Regions from separate parts of the Homo sapiens genome. Here region 1 is linked to region 2. Evidence: promoter capture Hi-C in human tissues and cell types (Jung and others, 2019). All regions are on one chromosome and are shown on one strand. Each heading gives the region's core, a stretch centred on a gene start or on the middle of the fragment in contact. The rest is flanking DNA. Distances are from core to core; before and after follow the strand shown.

Region 1 (2,700 bases), core at 113-2,612, 43 kb after region 2:
TAACTTTGGATATTAATTAAACAGTAACGTTTCTTTTCCACAGTGAGAAAAGCTAGAATGTGGAGTCCTGTCATCAGATGATGTGACTACATGGAATGAGGACTATAGCTGCTCTCTTAAAAACCTGCAGCCCCCTCTCTCAGCCCAGACAGTTGAGGTATTTATGCACCATCATAACATTAACAGCATCTTTGCTTTGGAAAGTGGGGGTTTATGATTTCTAGGGTAAATCCTCGCCTTTGGGAGTGTGAATGAGACAAGCGTATCAGCAACTGCCAAGACCAATCAATAGATGTGCATGGAACATTCTCTTCATCCCCAAATCAGAATGAACACAGTCCTTTAAAGTCTGCACTGCAGGTGAAATTCACATGACTCACAATTCCCTTTAGCCAATGTTACCGAAGTCAGTGTCAAGAAAACTTAACAGAAAAAAAAAAAAGCACAGAGTGAGTTCCTACCATAAAAATCCAGGCTGCCCCTGTTTCCTAGCTCTAATATAAGCCATTTTCTTTCCTTATGTGTACCAACATGTACTAAATGTCCCAAAGAGTAAGAAATTAGAACTACCTGTTGTCCGAAGACCTTAAGCCCAAAGCTATCTGTGAAAGTCCTATAGGGATTTTGTAATTCTGTGTGTGCAGAACACAGTTAAATTATTATTATTATTATTTTTGAGACGGAGTTTTGCTCTTATTGCCCAGGCTGGAGTGCAATGGTGTGATCTCGACTCACTGCAACCTCTGCCTCCCGGGTTCAAGCGATTCTCCTGCCTCAGCCTCCCTAATAGCTGGGATTACAGGCATGCAACACCACACCTGGCTAATTTTGTATTTTTAGTAGAGATGGGGTTTCTCCATGTTGGTCAGGCTGGTCTTGAACTCCTGGCCTCAGGTGATCCACCCGCCTCGGCCTCCCAAAGTGCTGGGATTACAGGCATGAGCCACTGCGCCCGGCCCAGTTTAATGATTTTGTACACTGTTTTAGTTGATACTGCAGAACACATATTCACCTTTGATGGGCTACAAAACTTCCACTCACCCCTTGTGGGTTCTAAGTCCTAAAAAAAAGAACACTCTATTTTCTTAGAGAAGTAATTTTGGCAAAAGGCGACTGCCTAGCTGTTTCAGAATGATTTCAGAATGATGCCTGCATTACTCAAGCAGGACAAGAAGAGGAAAGCATTTTAAAAAGGAAGTTGCTCTTAAGGAGAAAAAAAAATTAAAACAGCCTTTCTTCTAAAACTCTTAGAGAAAATAAAAGTAGGACATAGGACCAACCATTATGTACATGAAAGGGGCTTTTTGCTACCCATCCCCATTCCCAGCGAGAAATACTAAGTAAACTCCTTGGTGAAACTTCAGCTTTCTGGTTCCTGCGTGTGGTGGGGCCTGCGGTTTGGGATGCTGTTTCTGCACTTGCTCACTGTTGAATTTCAAATACTCTTTCGTGGCCAGGCCACCACTGGTTACCTGCTGGTGCCTCTCTCTCTTAGGATCTCCAGAGGTCTTTGCAGACACGTGGGTCCTCAGTTTCAGGGAGCTACACAGGTACAGGGGAAGCAGAGGCTCCATGAAGACTTTGGATAGAAACATCTTCCTTGACACGTCTTGTTCCAAACAGCATGAAAATGGAGCGCTGGCACACAGCCCTCGTGGCGACTTCTGGATGTGTTTCCTTTGCTCTCCTCTCTTTCCCTCCATTGGAAGTTAGGGACACCTCTGCACTACTCACTGACCTGAGGTTTATACTCCAATAGTGGACCCCTACCCGCTGCGTAGACTCCGTAAGCAGACCCCCGCTCTGGCTTCAGACACATTTCCTGAGTTCTGACTTTTCCACACAATAAGACATTCTAATCTGAGATTCATAATTAGGTAAACCTGTGTTTGGCCCTCCGCGGACTTTCCTCTGACATCTTGGGCCCCTGGTAAAACCTAGTGCGAAAGGGGACGGCAATTTTCTCCAGTCTTCTATGTGGATTTTCAACCTGATGTAGCTTCTGTTTATGTTGCAGATAAGAGGTGGTTTCTTGTAAGGTAGACTTCCAACAAATGTTGGATGTCTAACAAATGTTGGATTTGTCTTCCAATAAAAGAAAGGATGTCAGGTTTACCAACCCTTTTCAGCAGAATAGAGGAGAGAGATTTCTTTGAAGGAGTTTGTGTTTTGTTTTTCAATAATTACTAGATTTATATTCTGGCTGACCTATAGATTCTGAAGAAGGATGGATTGTTAAATTCAACAACTCCCTTCCGCCCGCCATTTATTTAAACAGATTTATCATGACCATTATGTAGGCATTTGATTAGCTACTAGTTTGTTACTAAGAAGTAGAACTGGCACACGCCTATAATCCCAGCTGCTTGGGAGGCTGAGGCAGGAGAATAGCTTGAACCCGGGAGGTGAAGGTTGCAGTGAGCCAAGATCATGCCACTGCACTCCAGCCTGGGTGACAGAATGAGACTCTGTCTAAAAAAAAAAAAGTAGCACTCAAGCTCAGTAAAACCTGGAGCTGAGATTTTACTGTTTAGATTAGATAGATATAAAAAGTTGTTAGGTTTAGTTGTTGAAACCTATTGTTGAAAACTTTAAAGTGGCTGTTAAATTGTGTTGCTTGTCCACGTATTAAATGGCTGTATTTTCTTAGGTTAATGATGAATGCAGACACAGGACTCAAAGTACAGCTATTTTTCTCTT
Region 2 (2,700 bases), core at 24-2,523:
TGTTGATGGTGATGATGATAGCTTTACACTATCAGAGCGCTCATTCTGGGCTAGGCAGTTTTCTCAGTGGGGTACAGATATTAATTTATTTACAGTGAGCCAGAGAAGTCTGCTGTAGCTTTTAATGCGTCTAAAATGGGACACATGAACCCCTTAGGAATTTTCAGACTGATCAGGACAGTTTCCTAGAAACAGTTCGTGAAAGGGATGAGATGGGCCCATGGTATCTACCCCTTCCTAGCTGCGTGAACTTGGGCAACTCAACCTTCTTGTGCTGTTTCTCTATGGCTAGTGCGTGTAATTTGTTGTTGTTGTTGTTGTTTGCTTTTGAGACGTTGTCTCACTCAGTTGCCCAGGCTGGAGTGCAGTGGCACGATCTTGGCGCACTGCAACCTCCTTCAAGTTATTCTCCTGCCTCAGCCTCCCAAGCAGCTGGGGTTACAGGCATGCGCCACCATGCCCGGCTCATTTTTGTATTTTCTGTAGAGATGGAGTTTCACCATGTTGGTCAGGCTGGTCTCGAACTCCTGACCTTAGGTGATCCGCCCACCTTGGCCTCCCAAAGTTCTGGGATTACAGGTGTGAGCCACCACTCCCGGCCTAGTATGTGTCATTGACAATTGTTCCTACCTCAAAGGCTGTTATGAGGATTAAATGAGCTAATGCATGTAAAATGCATCTGCATAATATATAACACAGCTCGATAAATGTGAGTTGCTATTGTTGATTATTATGGCCACGTTTGCCGCTGATGATGTTCAACCACTGAAAAGCATCGTTTTCTTTCTTCTAGTAACTGTGTGTACTGAATGCCTCGCGTTTGTCCCTACTGCACTTTTCAGTCTGTCACAATCCTGGGTCGTCGGGGGACTGTACCGAGCGCCCTTGGAGTGCTCGCAGCAGGGAAGAAGGAGCGAGCAGGGAGGAGCTGAGGAGGGTCGGAGCGGAATGGACACCCAGAGACTGAGATGAGAGAGGGGCTATAAGAAGAGAAACCAGTCGCAGGAAAACAGAACTCTCGACAAACGCACGCCCTCTTTGCGCTCTCCGTTTCTCTGGACCTGGATGGAATTGTTTTACTTTGCATCGCCGGACTGCGCTGCGGACGGGGTGGGGCGGCCCAATGGCCCCCCTGGGGTTACTCTGCTCCCCTTCACGCTTCCCTCCCGGCCCCGCCCCGCGATTGGCCGGCGCGCCCCGGGGCTGCCGCCGATTGGTGCTCGCCGGCCGGAGCCGCGGGGCTTAAAGAGGGGGCGGGGGCGCGCTGCCCAGCAGCGCTGCTGTCCCCGCCGTGCGCCCTTCGCCGCTGAGCTCGCAGCCTCCGGCGCCCACCTCCACCTCCAGTGTCCCGCCTCGGGCCGTCGCCCTCCAGCGGCTCGCGAGCGTGGGAGACGTACCTGGGCAGGCACTGTCCAGCCCAGGCCCAGGCACAGCCGTGAGGGGCGAGGCACGGGGACATCCTGGCGGCCACCATGGTGGCCACGTGCCTGCAGGTGGTGGGCTTCGTCACGAGCTTCGTGGGCTGGATCGGGGTCATCGTGACCACCTCCACCAATGACTGGGTGGTGACCTGCGGCTACACCATCCCCACCTGCCGCAAGCTGGATGAGCTGGGCTCCAAGGGGCTGTGGGCCGACTGCGTCATGGCCACGGGGCTGTACCACTGCAAGCCCCTGGTGGACATCCTCATCCTGCCGGGTAAGGACCCGAGCTTGGCGGCGGCTCCCAAATCCTTATCCTCTGGGTAGAGAGCGGGATATTAGACGGCGTCACAGAGACATTTTGGGGGCTTGAAGACCTTTGGGTACGTTTTTGACATCCCTAGTCCCACCTTGTTGTAAAAGAATTAGGCAGCCCCGAACTTAACTTCTCTAGGCCGCAGTATTCTTATCTGGAATTTGAGATAATAGTGGCAATGTGGCCGGTGGTAACACTGGCCGGGTCCCTTTGAGAATGAACAAACCGGAACACCTAATAGGAACTGAGTCCGTGTTAATTACTGCGGTCCCAGCCCGCATCCTTCCACCGTCCGCTTCCCGAAGTGCTTCCCGCTCCCGCCCGGCCTCCCCCGGGGCGCCGAGCCTTCGCGTTAGGTTCCGCCCGCAGAGGTGAGAAGGAGCGTGTAACACAAGCTGACAGGAGAATCGAACCGGCTCAGGCTGAGTTTCTCGGTCCTCATGGGATGGGCGAAGCGCCCCCGGCCAGGTTAGAGCCCTCCTAGCTCCGTCCGCGCAGCCGCTGAGCAATTCACGTCCAGGGCTCTCTGGGCTGCCTGGTTTGGGAAATGTCACGTTGATTCCCGCACGTGCCCAGGGCCATCTCCGCTGCCCCCGCTACCCCCGCCCCTGCTGTGGGCGCGTCAGACTGCGGGGCTGCGGTGACGCCGGCTCCCGCTCCGCGCCGCTGGGTTGGATAGGGACGAGCGGGCGCTCCTCGGAGGGCGGACTCCACTGGGGAGATACGGAGCGCGCCGCCGAGGGTCGCTCGCCGCCACCCCTCCAGCGTGTCTCAGATTGGGAAGGGGAGGTAAAAATTGACAGCCTAGCGCCGGCCAGGGGCCACATTTTCACATGTGTCCTGTGGAAACATTTTGGGCGACAGCCTCAATTCAGATTTAAACCAATGGGTTGGGCAATGGCGAGGTCGCGGGCACCCCCTTGGTTTTCTGCTGGAATCTCTGCTCTACCCCCAAGGCATGTC

What was found. The method cuts DNA at HindIII sites, captures the fragments that hold promoters and counts their contacts. A contact is called where the count stands out against the background at its distance.
Region 1: a contact is called between a fragment that was not itself captured here and the fragment with the promoter of CLDN11 in region 2, in 1 of the 25 tissues and cell types used here (hippocampus).

Annotation. Positions count from the first base shown.
Region 1 is chr3:170,460,256-170,462,955 of GRCh38, forward strand. It overlaps SLC7A14 (solute carrier family 7 member 14), which reads right to left. Exons shown (of 8, transcript NM_020949.3): 8 at 1-2,700. Among named protein-coding and RNA genes, the nearest start is that of SLC7A14-AS1, 5.7 kb to the right of the region's middle. The HindIII fragment of the contact is 5,273 bases long and covers 1-2,700 here.
Region 2 is chr3:170,417,595-170,420,294 of GRCh38, forward strand. It overlaps CLDN11 (claudin 11), which reads left to right and starts at 1,274. Exons shown (of 3, transcript NM_005602.6): 1 at 1,274-1,698. The coding sequence starts at 1,473. RefSeq lists an enhancer at 1,022-1,974. The HindIII fragment of the contact is 16,199 bases long and covers 1-2,700 here.